Regions from separate parts of the Homo sapiens genome. Here all the other regions are linked to region 2. Evidence: promoter capture Hi-C in 16 types of primary human blood cells and fetal thymus (Javierre and others, 2016). All regions are on one chromosome and are shown on one strand. The core of a region is centred on a gene start or on the middle of the fragment in contact, and the rest is flanking DNA. Distances in the headings are between cores, read along the strand shown. Region 1 overlaps PDE11A (phosphodiesterase 11A). Region 2 holds the start of AGPS (alkylglycerone phosphate synthase). Region 3 overlaps PDE11A (phosphodiesterase 11A). Region 4 overlaps PDE11A (phosphodiesterase 11A).

Evidence for each region. The method cuts DNA at HindIII sites, captures the fragments that hold promoters and counts their contacts. A CHiCAGO score of 5 or more calls a contact.
Region 1: a fragment that was not itself captured here is called in contact with the fragment with the promoter of AGPS in region 2 in 1 of 17 cell types (megakaryocytes); the score reaches 5.4 in megakaryocytes.
Region 3: a contact is called between a fragment that was not itself captured here and the fragment with the promoter of AGPS in region 2, in 1 of 17 cell types (fetal thymus). The highest score is 7.9, in fetal thymus.
Region 4: a fragment that was not itself captured here is called in contact with the fragment with the promoter of AGPS in region 2 in 1 of 17 cell types (M2 macrophages); the score reaches 8.6 in M2 macrophages.

What each region holds. Positions count from the first base shown.
Region 1 is chr2:177,733,742-177,737,940 of GRCh38, forward strand. All of the region lies in intron 10 of PDE11A (phosphodiesterase 11A), which reads right to left. Among named protein-coding and RNA genes, the nearest start is that of PDE11A-AS1, 63 kb to the left of the region's middle. The HindIII fragment of the contact is 4,569 bases long and covers 122-4,199 here.
Region 2 is chr2:177,390,272-177,394,427 of GRCh38, forward strand. AGPS (alkylglycerone phosphate synthase) reads left to right here and starts at 2,502. Exons shown (of 20, transcript NM_003659.4): 1 at 2,502-2,778. The coding sequence starts at 2,519. It overlaps LOC100130691 (Putative uncharacterized protein FLJ44553), which reads right to left and starts at 2,420. Exons shown (of 9, transcript NR_026966.1): 1 at 2,302-2,420. RefSeq lists silencers at 2,502-2,721, 3,930-4,156. The HindIII fragment of the contact is 4,249 bases long and covers 996-4,156 here.
Region 3 is chr2:177,752,635-177,756,639 of GRCh38, forward strand. All of the region lies in intron 10 of PDE11A (phosphodiesterase 11A), which reads right to left. Among named protein-coding and RNA genes, the nearest start is that of PDE11A-AS1, 81 kb to the left of the region's middle. The HindIII fragment of the contact is 1,653 bases long and covers 1,871-3,523 here.
Region 4 is chr2:177,709,818-177,713,891 of GRCh38, forward strand. It overlaps PDE11A (phosphodiesterase 11A), which reads right to left. Exons shown (of 20, transcript NM_016953.4): 13 at 1,952-2,061. The region is part of intron 4 of PDE11A-AS1 (PDE11A antisense RNA 1); the gene reads left to right. Among named protein-coding and RNA genes, the nearest start is that of PDE11A-AS1, 39 kb to the left of the region's middle. The HindIII fragment of the contact is 1,909 bases long and covers 1,703-3,611 here.

The sequences.
Region 1 (4,199 bases), core at 1,156-3,655, 340 kb after region 2:
GAAGGGACAGCAAAGTTCTTTCTTTTGCCAATATAATTATAGCCCTTATTATGTGCCAGATACTGTTTTAGTGTTATGCTTTGCATATACTCACTCATTTGATGTTCACGAGAACCCTAAAAGCTTGGGAATAGTTTTAATTCCATGTTATGATGAGGCAACTGAAATAAATAATGAATAAGTTGGTCAAATTTGCAGTGTGATTGTCAGAGGCAGATTTGAACCTGGGGAGCTTTGTGCTAGAGACTGGCTCCTAACCATCACACTGCCTCTCAAAATGGGCCTATGCCAAGCGAGGGTCCCCCTTTCTGTATTATGCAAACTAACTTGGGTGCACCATGACTGGAGTTTGGGATTTATATCCAGATGACTAGCTTTTCAATCCGTTTTTTATTATAAGCAACCTGGACCTATGTGAGGGACAATGTTTTTGTCTTTACCTATATAAAACTCCTTGGGAAAGTCTCCAAATTCAGAGCTGACTTTGGAATGAACCCAAATTGTTACTTTGTGTTGATTGTAGCTAACCCAGAATCAACTCGAATACTCCCAAGACCATGCTGAAAAAATAACTTGTCTTCTCGGGGAGCAAACAATGAGGAGGTGACAAACGAGGAGATAAATAGTATTAGCAGAACAGCGATGTTATGAAAAAGTAAGTTTTTGCTTGATCACAGGAGTTTGAGGCTGCAATACACTATGATCGCGCCTGTGAATAGGCACTGCATACACTCCAGCCTGGGTAACACAGCGAAACCCCATCTCTTAAAAAAAAGTAGGATTTAAATTCTCCTGGCAATTGTTTTCTCTTGATGCCATTCATTAAATTTGCCTTGTAGTTGCCTAGAACACTCTTCATGACAGATATGGGCTCTCATCCTACCTTTAACACTTACTTGGCTGAGTGGCAGTGGGCAAGAAACTAAAGTAAGCCTCAGATTGAGCATTCTTTGTATAAACAATCACAAAATTGTGTTGCATGGCTGTTGTGAGGAGTGAATGAAATAATGCACACAAGAGCCTAGCACAGTGCTTGGAAATAGGAAATAGTAAGTAACGGTGCCTGGCATGATGGCGCTTGATGTTGGTGTGTTGTTGTTATGCTCATTATGATTTTTATACTGATAGCAGCCCCATAGAAGGATAGGGTGAGTGGAGAAGATTTTGGTAACTAGACTCTGAAGAGTCAAGCTCTGTCCTCTGCCCCAGGAGACCGCCCAGTTTAATCCATTTTAATTCAGTACATATGTATTGTGCATCTAACTGTACGCCAGGCACTGGCATATGCTGTAGTTATGTTTGTAAAATTAGTGTGGTCCCTGTGCTCGCAGCCTGTCAGAGGATACAGAGAAGCAAACGGGCAATTACAGAACAGTATGGGTTAAGAGCTGCGATGGGGGAAACACGGGGCACCACAGGAACCCCCGGGAGAGTTTAGTGAAATACATTCGGCTTCACGTTCCTGCCTTAATTCCAAACTGTCATTAAACCTCAGCTTTATAAAGTATATTTAGTAATTTAAACAGTTAAAAATAGTTACTATGATAAAAAAATGTTTAAAGGTCATAGAGAATGTATCAAAACCTAAGAAAAGCCGTGGACTCCATTCCTGAGATGCTCATGGCCTACCCAAGAAGAAAGAAAAAACAATGATTCGTGGAAAAAAAAAACCCCAAAAAACCAGAAGCATAAAGTTCAGAGGCAACAACAGGAATGAGCGTATGAGATGCAAAGAAGCACAATGGAGGAGGATCATCTAATGTGGGCATTGGAGGGTGAATACAAGTTCACCAGGAGAATAAGGAAACATGGCGGAGAACAGCACTACAGAGTAGAGTTCCAATCTCCCCTGAAGATGGTGCAATACCAGGAGGCACAGACAGGGCCCCATTGTTAACAAAAAAACAGTGCTTGTTCACAGAGATCCAAGACTTCCTCTAATAGGCTTGGACCCCTTGGCTGCCTAAACAACTGTAAAACTTGAGTTCATCCAAGTAAAGGGCATCCGCTTTGCCAAGCTCCAGTGGCCTTGGACCACAGTGCAGGCGCCTGGTTTGCCTGTGACTCCAGGACTGACTTCTGTTCGCTGTCCATGCCAGGTTGGCTCCCTTGACCCCTGGTAGTGACCAGTCTCCATTCTCTATGGCCAAACCTCCCAGAACTTCCCCTTTGAAGCTCTGGTCCCAATTTTAGTTGTGGCAGGTGGCAAATGTTTGGGCCGTTTTCGTATGGGAAAGCAATTGTCAGTGTTTCCTTTTCCCTTTCTTTGCTGCACTCAACAGCGAACCCTTTCTTTCCTCTCCTGGGAATATTTGAAGACCAAGCAACCCTTTGTGTCCTCCAGGGAAAAGGAATTTGTTTTCGGTTGAGTGGGGTTCTGGGTCTAATGGGTCTATCTATTTTGAAAGAACCAGGGAAAAAGAGAGAGTACTCTAGAACCAGAAGGAAGGAAGGACGTGCTCCCGGGGGAGATAAGTAACAGAGGAAGGGCCAGGCGTAGTGGCTCATGCCTGTAATCCCAGCACTTTGGGAGGCCGAGGCAGGTGGATCAACAGAGGTCAGGAGTTCGAGACCAGCCTGGACAACATGGTGAAACTCCGTCTCTATTAAAAATACAAAAATTAATACAAAAATTAGCTGGGTGTGGTGGTGGGCACCTGTAATCCCAGCTACTTAGGAGGCTGAGGCAGGAGAATTGCTTAAACCCAGGAGGTGGAGGTTGCAGCGAGCACTGCACTCCAGCAGGGGTGACAGAGTGAGACTCCATCTAAAAGAAAAAAAAAAGAAAAAAAAAGAAAGGGAGGAGGAAGAAGAATTTCCCCCTTTCACAGAGATACAGGAATGAGGAAAGAGAGGGAAGGAGACAGCCCCTGGGAGCATGGCTGCTGATCCTTGTGCATTTACCTAGAAAGTGGATGCACCTAGCAAAGGACCCCCATGGAGGCAAAGGACTCCCATGTTGGAGCTCCCATAAGCTAAGTGACAGTTGAATCAGAATCCATGGACTGTCCCATGTTTAAGTTGAAACCTCTCATTATTTGCACTCAAGAGTTCACCAGCTCTTCCTCCCATGGAAGAGCGGTAAGGACTTTAGCTCATTAGCATCCAGCACCTCAACCACTGACCACCCAATGGAAATGACACCTGTTTGGGTAATGCACCCTTGCTTAGTCACCAAACACACAATACCTAAAGACACTAATAAAGCCAAGAAAGAGGCTGGGTGCGGTGGCTCACACCTGTAATCCCAGCACTTTGGGAGGCCGAGGTGGGTGGATCACTTGAGGTCGGGAGTTCGAGACCAGCCTGACAAAATGGAGAAACCCTGTCTCTACTAAAAATACAAAAATTAGCTGGGCATGATGGCACATGCCTGTAATCCCAGGTACTCTGGAGACTGAGGCAGGAGAATCGCTTTAACCCGGAAGGCAGAGGTTGCGGTGAGCCAAGATCACGCCATTGCACTCCAGCCCAGGCAACAAGAGTGAAACTCTGCCTCAAAATAAAATAAAAATAAATAAATAAATAAAATAAAATAAAATAAATCACATTATTGGCTGGGTGCGGTGGCTCACACCTGTAATCTCAGCACTTTGGGAGGCTGAAGTGGACAGATCACGAGGTCAGGAGATCGAGACCATCCTGGCTAACACAGTGAAACCCCGTCTCTACTAAAAATACACACACACATACACACACACACACACAAATTAGCCAGGCGTGGTGGTGGGTGCCTGTAGTCCCAGCTACTTGGGAGGCTCAGGCAGGAGAATGGCATTAGCCTGGGAGGCGGAGCTTGCAGTGAGCTGAGATCACGCCACTGCACTCCAGCCTGGGCGACTCTGTCTCAAAAAAAAAAAGCCAAGAGAGAGGGGCAGGGTTCTGGATACCTACAACCTACAGGAATGCTGGGAGGGTGGGAGTGGAAGGTGGAGAAGGCTTCTACACCTGAACTAGGTTGGGAAGCTGAAATGAAGCAGCTTAAAACTTCCTGAGAGCCAAGGCAGTGGTTAACGATGTCCATCATTAATATGTTGTGTAATTATTGTTGAAAGTCTGATGGACAAGGATAGGAATTACGTCTGTCTTGTTTACTGTTGTGTCCTAAATGCTCATTGCAGTCTTCACCACTGTAGGCAGTAACTGGCACATGGGAGAAACTCATTAAATATTTATCAGATGAATGAGTGAAGGCTTGA
Region 2 (4,156 bases), core at 1,252-3,751:
TCTACCCCATTCAAGGAAGCACATGGAGAATCACGGGATTACATTCTTGCAAAAACAAAAAATGACCTACTGTATCAAAGGCTACAGGACATCTCAATTCAATAACTGATAGGTCTAGACAGCTGTTATCATATTTCTCTGCAACAACTTCATCAGTGACATCTGAGATTGGATTCTAAAGATACAGGAGGAAGTAAAACATGAGGAAATGGAGGTAATGCCTAGATGAACTGAGGGGATAGTATACAGGAATAATTCTTGGCTCATTAATTATTGGATTGAGCCACCTCCATCTATCTGTTTTGGAGACTGCTTTATCAGGTCAGAGGAGATGAGTGTGACTTTCTTCAGATTGTGCAAGACAAAAAGAACACCATTAGAATTATGTACATGACACTGGAAGGCAAAGTGGGTTTTAAAATTTTAAAATAAGAGACAATTCCTCTAATTGACAACAAAATCAAGTAAAGGAAAGGAAGCTAGGATTTTTCTTCTGTTATCAAACATGTAGGAGCATATAGCCACTTTTCTGGTCATCAGTTGAATACTGAAAATGTCAATCAGGTGCAACTTCTTTGTTGTGAGGGTAGGCAACAAAGTATGCAAAAGCCAGAAACTAGTGGCTTGCAGGCTTTGATATTTAATTTTACAAGATCAACTAAAGATTCTCTTTTTTCAGTCATAAATACCTAGGAAAGTGCTATATGTGTTTCATGTTCTTGCACCTCATGAATGAGGTCGTGATAGCTGTGGTGGCAATCTCTGAAATTCTTCCCAGAACTCAATCCTTAAGAACCAGGAGTATAGTTTATAATTAAAGTGAAAATTTATTTTAGAAAGTTCAATTTTAGAATCTATAAAATAAAAAACAAAAACCCCAAGCCTACGTAAGTAATTTTAACGTAAAATGTTAATGGCCCCAAACTCTAATGGTGGAATAAGGACAATAACATGAAGTATATGATATTTGAGATAAAATATAGCTATTTAAGAAAAGCTTCTTACTCTCCTTGAGCCTTCATCTATAAAATAAGGATAATAAAACTGTGTCATTGTGTTACTGCAAAGATTGATTAAATAGATACGTATAAGATGCCTAGGTTATGGCCATTTTTTATATTTAACAAATTCCTAATTCTTTCTTGTTTCTACAACTGTACTAAATTATTTTAATAGCTGCAAAAGTATTTTAACATATTGACTAACCATTTCTCTGTTGCTAGACATTTGGACTGTTTTCAATGGTTTGGTATCTCTTCGTATATAAATTTCAGAAGACATTCGGACCTCCTGTAAAGGCCAGGTAATACATATTTTGGGGCTTCTGGGACCACATAAGGTCTCTGTTGCATATTCTTTTAAAAAATTTCTTGTTTTCTTTTAACAACCCTTCTCAAATACAAAAACCATTAGCATGAGGGCTGTGTAAAAACAGGCCACAGACTAGAGCTGGCCCTCCAACAGCAATTTGCTTAGCCCTTAATTGAGAGTTTTTAACCAGTCTGGGCCTCTTTGGAAGTTCACTCTAAAGGCATAATCTCAATTTTAGAAGCTGGCAACACCCAAGAGAGCAATTGTTAGTCTCTAGTCCCATGGATGTGGTGTTCTTCAGATTCCTCTGCCAATATTTTTCTTGTTAGGAAAGCATGATGTGAAAGTGGTGACAGGATGGAGAATGACAATGGCCAGTGTATGTGAGTTTTTGTCTAAGCTAATTCTTATGCAAGACACCGGCTGAAACAGGTGAGGAGCACTTTTCACGTGCTATCTTCCAGAAATGAATTCAATCTGTAAATAACTGAGATGTCTTCACAGCTCTTGGGTAATTTTTGTCTGTAGCAATAAGAAACTTTATCTCTATTAAAGTTAGGAAGGGGTTAGGATCCAGTAATGAATGAAATGAGAACTTAAGTTGCAACTCAGTTTCTGTACTTACTTGTGATCTAGCATTAAACACAGTGCCAGGCACGAAATAGGTGGTGAGAAATAAGAAAATGATAGAGCTATTTGCTCTAATGGTTAGAGGCAATGATGGTCAGCTTTGAGTTACTTTGGTGACCCCGCAGGGAGGAAGAGCACAGGTGGAACATTAGAATCTCTTTCAGGAAAAGGATGCCGCTGGATCCATCAGGTCCAGTAGCACTGCCCATTTCTCCTGCTCCAAGGCATCTGCCCTCGAAAGCCCCCAGGCCACACCCGAGGACACCACCCAGGGTTCTAGGACACCTCGAGGGCGGACGTGGTTTGGCTCTCGGTCCAGCTGGACCGGGCTGGGCCAACCGGGAGTCAGCTCGAACTCACCTGCTTGGCAGGTGCGCGCTTCCCGAGGCGTGACAAGGGAGCGCCGGCGCGGTGGGTGGGGGGCAGAGAATGTGAAGCTCCAGACGCATGGCACCCGCCGCCAAGTCGCCGCGGTGGCTGCCGGGATGCGCCGCAGCGAATGGTCGCGCCGGGCGCCGCTCTGAGTGACCTTTCACCCGCGCCCAGCGGTTCCGGGCGGCAGCACAAGGCGGTAGCCATGGCGGAGGCGGCGGCTGCAGCGGGTGGGACTGGCTTGGGCGCGGGCGCGAGCTACGGGTCTGCAGCGGACCGGGACCGGGACCCGGACCCGGACCGCGCCGGGCGGAGGCTGCGGGTTCTCTCTGGCCATCTGCTGGGCCGGCCCCGGGAGGCTCTGAGTACCAATGAGTGCAAAGCGCGGAGAGCCGCGTCGGCGGCCACGGCAGCGCCCACGGCCACTCCCGCCGCGCAGGAGTCGGGCACCATCCCAAAGAAGCGGTGAGTAGCGGTATGTGGAAGGAGTTAGCGTCGAGGGACCAGGCCGGGCCTGTGCTGCAGGAGGGCACAGGCGAGGTGGGAAGGGAAGTGACACGGGTGGGCGGAAGGCATCCCGGTCCCTGAAAGTAGGGACCCACCTCTCTTTCGAGAGAGTGGACTAGACCCTGGATTCTGTCAGGAAGGGGGCGGGATGGGATGGTGGATTTTGGTCACTATGTGAGGGTAACAGGCTTGAAGAACTCTCGTTGGAGAAGGGTTTAAAGGATTCCTTTTTCCTGAGCTTTTAGTGCCAGGAATTCATTTTTTATCTTGAATTAATACTTTTGGTGCTGAGGTCTTGGAATGGGTAGCAGAGGTTCTATTTTTCTCCGAGGAGATATAAATTTGTACTAGATGATAGATCATAGGAATCTCTCTCATTCGCGAAAGCCTGCTGTGGGGGAAACTGGTGGTGCCCTGGAAAAAGGTGCTGACTGGTTTCTGTGGGGTAAGTTCCACTTGCTTAGGATCAAGATGTATTGACTTTGAGGGAGGAAACCGATGAATGGTAAGAAGCCATAAACTGCAAACACTAGCTAGTGGTTTAAGGTGTGGTGGTATAGCTACTGAGCTCTGTGTAACCAGAAGCTAAAAGACAAGAGTCTAACCGATGAGGGATGTTTGTAAGAGATCTTGACTTTCGATGTTTTTGGAGAAATCTTTTTTTTTTTTTTTGTATTTTTAGTAGAGACAGGGTTTCACCGTGTTAGCCAGGATGGTCTCGATCTCCTCAATCTCTGATGAAGGCTATTAGGAGAAGCTACTTTCTGACGTGTGGCTTTGTCACCGTGGATAAATGGATAAACCGAGAGTGAAAAAAATAAGTAGCTAATGTTTAAAGTGTACTTTTAAGTGTGCCAAAGTGTGCTAAATCCTTTGTTTCTTCCCAAGCTATGAGGTATGTGCGGTTTTCTCCCATTTTACAGATGAATAAATTAAGTCTGCTGGAGTCTTAGCAGATATGCTGTGTGACAGGTTAGAATTTGAAAGCACATCAAATTGACTTCATGGCCAAGTTCCTAAGCTATACTTGCTTCTGATGAATTAATTCAACATACATGAGTCTTTACAAAATACACACTGTACCAGCAATACAGAAATTTAAAAATACGGTATTTACTCTTAAGGAAGGAATAGCTTAGTAGGTAAAATTATAATACAGCGTTATAAGAAACTTAACTGGGAACTATACCACCTGGTCATTTAACCCAGTTTTGGGTTTGTGTTTGTTAGTGCAAAGATGTTCCAAAGTAAAGATTGTCTGAGTAAATTTTGGATGTTTGCATTACTAATAGTTTGCCAAAGGGGGAAATTGTTCTTGGCATACAAACAGTATGTT
Region 3 (4,005 bases), core at 1,447-3,946, 360 kb after region 2:
TATTTATCAATTCATTAATTCAGTCATCAATGTATTGCTTTAGTCATTCAACAAATGTTTTATTGAGTGCCTACTATGTGTCAGGCATTTTGTTAGTCACCGGAGATAATAGCAATTTTCAAGTAGCTTAGAGTCTAACTAAGGCAAATCTGACTGTATCATTATTTATACCCATTAGAGGTTCACAGGAATGATATTCACTCACTAATTTGTTAATGCGAGTCTGCAGAATTAACATGCATGTAATAGTATTCAATCTAAGTTAATATGTTTGCCCATTGTTGATTATCATAACTGTTAGTTATAGTTAATTTCCAATCTGTCTAGCTCTCTGGAAAAGCAAAAAGCACCTTCCCTCCATTTTGCTGCTCTGAACTGGGAAAGAGCAGATGCCCAGGTGAATGGCAGTGAAGAACGTATATTCAGTGAGCTCTTACAAATCAAACTGTTTGCCCTGAATTAGGCTCAAGTCCACAACTAATGACAACTAATGTATGGATTCCTGGCATTGAAGCATTTGGAGTTTAACTGTTTGTTGTCATTGAAAGTGAATGCCTTTCCAACATGTAGCCTGAAGTGCTGAGAGGGCAGATCCTCAGCTAGGACCGAATGTCAGTAATTTAATCATTTATTTTTTCTTGTCTGTTTTATGACATGTTCTTTTCAGAGCATTCCCTAGTTGCTTTGATTCACATATACATTCCATCAATATTAATTTTCTGTGTTATAGTAACAACAAAAGAGTAAAACCAGAAAGAGGAAAACCTTATTTTTCCCTATGAATAGCCCAGGTCCACATGAAGGAGAAATTAGAGTAGACAGGTGGCACTGCAGCCTGTTATTCAAGGCCCAGGCAACCCTGACTAGTTCCTTCGTTCTCTCCTTTGCTTTTTTCTGAGGAAGAAAAATCAGCCTGAAGAGTCAAGCAGAATGACGAACTTTTTAAGGGCAAGATAATTCACAGGATCAGTTAGTGATAGAGTAACTTTGGGGACTTGCTTTGCATTTAGAATACCCACCCTATATGGCATGTTAGTCCTAGCAGAGAGAGGCTTGCTTCCACACCAAAAGCCCTAATTCACTTTCCACGGAGGCCCTCCCCATCCCTCAGCAGCACTTCCCTTTATCAGGCAGATAAGATTGGGGGGGCCAACATCTATCTTGTATGCATCCTATGACACTGCAGATGAAAACTACCTGCCCTGGTGTGGTGTCACATTTTTTACATTTGATTTTTATGGATGAAAGCATTGCTTCATCTGATACTTATAAAATACCACATTTGCCACTGAGAGGCTTCTGTGTCCAAATATCTGCCCCGCCCCCCATGTCTAATCTTGATCTTCACAGCTGAGGCCCATCTGGATCATCCTCCTTTCCAGCTGACAGTGAGAGAGCCAATGAAATGCCTTTTCCTGTTGCTGGGTGACTGCGAATATTTTGAAAACAAGTTCCTTAAAGGCAGCAGCTTCAAAGCCTGCCATTGGCTGGCTAGGCATACTGTGCAATGCTGACGCATGAAGGCTGGCAGAGGAGTGACAGTTGGGAAGAGCTACGCAAATATATTACTGGCCTGATGGTCCACTGGAGGGAAAGACTATTTCAAGGCTGAGTGACAACTATAACATACCCTGTCAGAAGAAAAATAAATCTCCCTGAGTCTACATTCAGGCATCTGAAGAACATTGCAGAAAATACTGCAGACAAAAAAAATGCAAAAACAAAAAACAAAAAACAAAAAAACTCAAGGTTGTCCTACCCTCAGATCTCCTGCTTTTTATGGTCTGATGAGCAGTTCTTCCTGTTCAAGAAATATATGGGTATTTCCACATACTTTGGTAGAATTTGTGTTCATACATTTTAAAGCCCAAGCTTGTTTATTTGGAAAATAATTTTCAACAAAGTCATGGAAGATTTTCTTTGCTTCCTTGTCTCCAGCGTCCCTTCCTTCACCTTCCTCCCCTGACCTTCAAGTCCAAAAATCCAGCAGGCACAGTATGCGGTCAGTGTCAGGGGCAGCATTGGCTGCATTTTATCTCACTCTGTCCACTTAAAATATTTGCATCCTGGTGGGAGGATAAGCACAGTCCTGTCTAAACAGCCTTGGGGTTCAGCTTTGCAGCTGGAGAGAGCTGTTTGGATACAAGTAACTGCTTTTGCTAACACCGGGTTAACTGTTCACACACAAATCTGCCAACGAGCCTCTAGGAAGGAATGTCCTTCTACTAATTGAATTCTAATGAGGCCAGGAAGTAGATTAGGAATTGAGCTATTTTACTATGAGTTTCAAATATCAGATCTAGGGATGTTTGGCCTGTCTGATCTCCTTAATTCTCCAGCAGGTCCCAATAAATTCATGAAGAAATGACTAGAAGAAATCTGTGGGTTATTGGTTGATCCAGTTGCAGGGGGCTTTTCTATATATCAGAGACTACAGTGTTCAAACACAAGAGAAAGAGGCTGATCTGAGATGACCTGATGGGCTAGTCATTAGTGAGGAGTTCCTGGACCAATTTAATTGGCATGTCCCTGGAAGTTATATTTATTTGCCTTATAATATTTGGGTAAGTTTGAGAGCCAAATCAGGGTGAGCATCAGTGGGGTCACCCCTGATTCTACTTAGTTGTGGAAATAGAAATGCTTTAAGGACATAGTAGAACATTCTTTTCAATAATGCTATATAGCCAACATCACTTGTGGAACCACTTCAGCAGACAGAGCGATCACTTGTGGGTGTCACCCAGTTTCTAGACATTACGAAGAGGCTCTTGTGAGCATCTTGCCTGTATCCCAGGAAATGCCTGCCTGCCATAAAAGAGGGCATGGGGTCATGCAAAAGTTACCTGCATGTACTGTGAAGGACAGCTATGATACCATCCACCAGGTACCTCTTTCCTTTCTAGAACTGGCCCTCCTTCTGCTGCGACCCCATGTTTCCACCTGGATTTGATTTTTCCAACTGACACACTTTCCTAAGCACACACTCCTCATCACAGTTGACTGGTCCAGGGATGGACAGGGGAACCAAGTGGGCCAAGCGGACCAATCAGAAAATGTCCCTGATATTTTCCAAACTGGAACTTGGGACTCCATAGTTCCCTTCTAGAAGGGGTTGCTGAAAGATGAGAAACCCAGGCTCTGCCAGAGGCCACTTTTACCCCTTTGTAGAGCAAGCCAGTCTGCAGTGAGTACCCAAGGGCTCCATGTGCAATGTGAGGCTTTTCATATTTGGCCCAAGGGGCCACCTGGGTGCTTAGTGGAGAGTCACAGCAGCCAGCCCCAGGAATCACCAAGTGGCTCTGAGGGTAGCAGATGGTTTTGCAGGAGCCCATTCTGTGGGGCAGGGTTTCCTTTTGGTGTGCACTACGCTCTCATTTGTAACACTTCCTGGGAAGACTTTGGGCTTTTACATACTATATAGAGGAAGGAGATTTTACATCTGGGACCTTGGGGCCATTTCAACCCTGCCTTCCCACTAATGAATTTACCACACAATAAGAGAAAGAGTTCCTGTTGGGAGAGAAGCTTGTTTGCACCCCAGGTCAGACAGGGCCACTGCTAACACTAGAATAGTGGGCCCCTGGTCTTTCAGGGGTTATCAAAATAACCAGCTTTTGCCCTCACACACAACTCCTCAGAGAACCGGAGTAAAGCTGTTTTCAAGAAGACCACTGATGGTTTAAAAGATATTTCAGGCAGAAGCATAAATTTCTTCATGGTTTTAAAGGGAAAGAAATTCCCTTTAAATTCATATTGGAGAAATGTCATCACAGAAAGCCTCTCACTCTCTTCTCGTTCATTTCTGAATTCTAAATCTTTTCTGTTGGTGGTGAGGGGAAGAGTAAAAAGTGGTTTTCCTCAAAAGCCAGCTTCAGTGGTTTACGGAGTTGTTTGACAAACTTAAGCCCAAGTGTTGAGGACGGCCACCTGTTCCCACAGAAATCACAAAGCTTGGTTTTCACAGAACTCGTCTCCATCTCCAGGAAGGCCAGAGGTGAATTATAG
Region 4 (4,074 bases), core at 1,407-3,906, 320 kb after region 2:
GAAAGAAGGACAACGAAAAGGTCCGACAGCTTTGAGAAAAGGGGGCCACGGGTGTCATTCCTGAGGTGGTTTCTCCAATGATTGGAACCGGAAGCCATGTGGGAGGACAGGGGTTGGGAGAAGGGAAGGAAGTGAACCCAGACAGCTTTCCATGAAGCTTGACTGGGAAGGAAAGAAGGAAATAGAACTGAAGCTGGAGAGTGAAGTGGGGATTAGGGTAGGCTTTTTTCAAGATGCGGGGGAGCTGTTTCTATTAATAGGATGCAGACAGCCAGCAGAAAGGGACAGCAGATACAGGAGGGAGAGGAAGATTGATGGCACAAAGTCCCAGAGGAGAAGCAAGGAAGGGTCCAAGGCAGAGGTGGAGGGATTAGCCTCGGACGAGGGAAGGACAGCCCTCTTACCGAGATAGGAGGGAAGGAGGGAAGGATGGGGATGGACAGATAAGTTTGTAGGTGGCAGGGGAGGAAATTGAGAGAATTCTCGATTGATGGCCTCAATTTTCTCCGTGAAGTAGGAGGCAAGGTGATCTGCTGAGTGGTGCGGGGGAGGCGGGGGAGCAGGAGGTGGTTTTGGAAGACACAAGTTTGGTATATGAAACTGCTAAGAGCAATGGGGAATGGGGCTGGCTAGGGACACAGAAAGACTGGCAGCGAGTTCTAGCGTCCAGCCAAGTGGGAGGAATATATATTTGGTATGTCTCTAACTCTCACAACTGTGACATTTTCTCCTAAAGCTTTTATAAGTCTAGGCAGAGTAGCAAGAGACTGAATTGTTAGACTGAACCAGGACTGAGTTTCTGCAGAGTGGATGTCACAGAGACTTGGTCAGGAAATGATAGGATATTGAGAAGAGAGCACTGAAGTGATGGGCTATAGGATACAGATTGGACAGAGGGCACAAAATTGAAATTCATCTGCTAGATCAGGAGTAAATACAAGAGTCCAAGACTCCTGAAGTCTTAGTGGGTAGATGTTTGGAGGAAAAAAGAGAATGATGAGCTGAAAAGAACCTGTTGACAAAGAGCAGACTGTGAAAGTTTCAGATAATAGAGGCTGACTTGTTCTAGAGGCTGTGAAATCAGTCATCTGAAGTTAATCTTACCTCTTCGTTGAGGCCTTCTCTACTTTCCCTACCCCAAAACTTTTCTCTCCAGCCTCTGAAAGCCTCTGTCTTTTGTTTGCAGGCAGACAGTGAAAGAAACATTAACGGCAGACTCTCAATATACAAGTCAGGAGACCTGGGTTTTGGTCTTATTTCTAGCACCCATAAGTTCTGTGGCCTTGGCCACAGTATGAGCCACAAAGCAACAGCTATCTTGACCAGGAAAACCTGCTTAGGGACAGATTATTCTATCTATACACATCATGTGTGTGGCAAATAGTTGCCCAGACATCCCTGTATTTCTGTAATTCCTTTGTTTCTTCCACCTTTCTATGGGAGTAGGGAATGGGAGGAGCAAAAACTATATTCCTTGAACGTGGCTTTATTTTACTATAGTTTATATAATACCCAACATCAAAAGAATCCTGGAAGAGACTCTGTTGGAGAAGGAAAACTATATTTTGCTTCATCAAATTTCCTAAGACTGCTTTTATTTTAACAGTCTCACACCAGAGTTTGAGAGTAGCAAGTCCAAGAAGCTTATAACGCCATAAAGGCAAATATTCTGGGAGGAAAAAAGTAGACCCTTTAAAATCCAAGCTTTGTTATCTGAGTAAGGTCAACAGAGACCGACCAAATCAACAAGCATGACATGAAGGGCAAATCTGCAATTAAAAGAAGAATAGGGAATTATAAAGATGGATGGGCCCCATGACATGCACGCCCAAGCCTGCATGGCCTTGGCCTCGGATGCCAGAAATTAATGCTTTACTCTTTAGCATTCGTCACCTTTGGCTCTGAACAGAAAGGCAAATGCATTAAAATAACAACAGTTTAGAACACTTACTTAGCTTGGAAGGCATTGTTGGTTCCCCTGTGGTCGAGGTCATGACACAGGCATCCCACAATCACCGCTAAAATTTCCACCTCGGTCAGAATGTCTTGAAACCCAGCAGTCTGGGAAGAAGGGGAAAATGGCAACAGTCACTACTGGGGTACGGAGGATGGATAAGGTTAGGTGCTGAGCAACAGTCAACTCTGTTTTCATACCCACATCATTTAAGGAGATGATTAACTGCCACTCCCTCAGACAACAGTAAGTTGGGTGGTCAGTTGCACAGCCTAAGGTCCCCACAGTGATGAATTAGCTTGCTGTCACAGCAGCCCACGCTGCCACACTGGGACATAGTTCAGACTATTTTGTTCCCTTTTTAGAGAGAAGGTTGGACTATCCAGAGACAGTGACAGTTTAGCAAAGGCCCAGGGCAAAATGTGTTTTGTTATTATACATTTTAATGATGAGCATAGGGTTTGGAGGTTGGAGGTTGGGGAATAGGAAGGGGCAGTGAATTGCAAAGTGAACACTACACCTGCCAGATCCCACCCAAATGAGAGCAGGCAGAAGGAGAACACAACCCTTCTTTTTTTTTTTTTTTTTAACATTAAAAGGAGACACTTTAACATACTCAAATTGTTATACAATGACATCCTAGAGGTTATCTTGTAAATACCCTAATTCATATTAGGTTGGTAGACAGATGAAATTCATACAGATAATAAGGCAGTGCATGTCATGGACACCAGAATTTGTCAGAGGATTGTCAACCCAGACTGAGGATTGAGTGGGGTATCCATTACTGGGAATTCTTTTTTCTTATCTTGTGGTAGCTTGCTGGTGAAATGCACAGCTGTGATGTGATTTCTTTTAGAAGCAGGTTGACATAATTATGTAATCAACAGCAGCAATGCTTCTTGGGTTGCTGCTGGCCCTTTCATTAGTTTAGAAGAGGAAGTGGACCTCTGGGAATGCAGGTCTATGCATTTTCTTGATCGAAGGCCTTTATATCTCCCCCTCTTTTACTTTGTAAGTCTCCCATTTCATTACTTATTAAAATCTTTATCAGAGAGTGGGAGGAGGGGGAGGATTAGGGTACAAATTGCTTCACTTTTCATGTGTTTTTTTCCACCAAATCTAGGATCACTGGCCCACACCTGTAAGACACTTCTCTTAGTAAAATGAAAATTTTGTTTTTAAATTGGTTATGTTTGTGTTGCAGAAATAACTGAATAACAGGTTTCTGTGTTGACAATTTTATTTTTTTTTTAGGAGACAGTCTTGTTCTATCACCCAGGCTGGAGTGCAATGGCACCATCTCGGCTTACTGCAACCTCTGCCTCCTGGGTTCAAGTGATTCTCCTGCCTCAGCTTCCCCAGTAGCTGGGATTACAGGCACCCACCACCACGCCCAGCTAATTTTTGCATTTTTAGTAGAGATGGGGTTTCACCATATTAGTGAGGCTGGGCTCGAACTCCTGACATCAGGTGATCCACCCATCTCGGCCTCTCAAAATGCTGGGATTATAGGTGTGAGCCTCCACGCCTGGCTGACAATTTTATTTTAATAAATAGACTTGGGTCCACTGCTACATTTAGAAATACATATAACTTCATTTGTATAGCAAATGGGAATGTTAATAAATTGGGAGTATGAAATAGTCCATGTCAAAGCTTGCATATGCCGGCCAGGCACGGTGGCTCAAAATTGTAATCCCAGCACTTTGGGAGGCCGAGGTGGGTAGATCAACTGAGGTCAGGAATTCGAGACCAGCCTGATGAACATGGCAAAACCCCATCTTTACTGAAAATACAAAAATTAGCCTCGCTTGGTGGCACGCGCCTGTAATCCCAGCTATTCGTGAGGCTGAGGCAGGAGAATCGCTTGAACCGGGAGACAGAGGTTGCAGTGAGCCTGTATGGCACCACTGCACTCCAGTCTGAGCGACAGAGCAAGACTCCATCTCAAACAAACAAACAAACAAACAAAAAAGCTTGTATATGCCCTTCATTTTAAAATCTGCAGTTGGCTGTTAGTTTTTCTAAGTTAATTTTATTTTACTTAAATTATTACCTGCAGTAACTAAAAAAATTCAAATTATACTGAGACTTAGAACTAAAAATCAGTAGTCCCT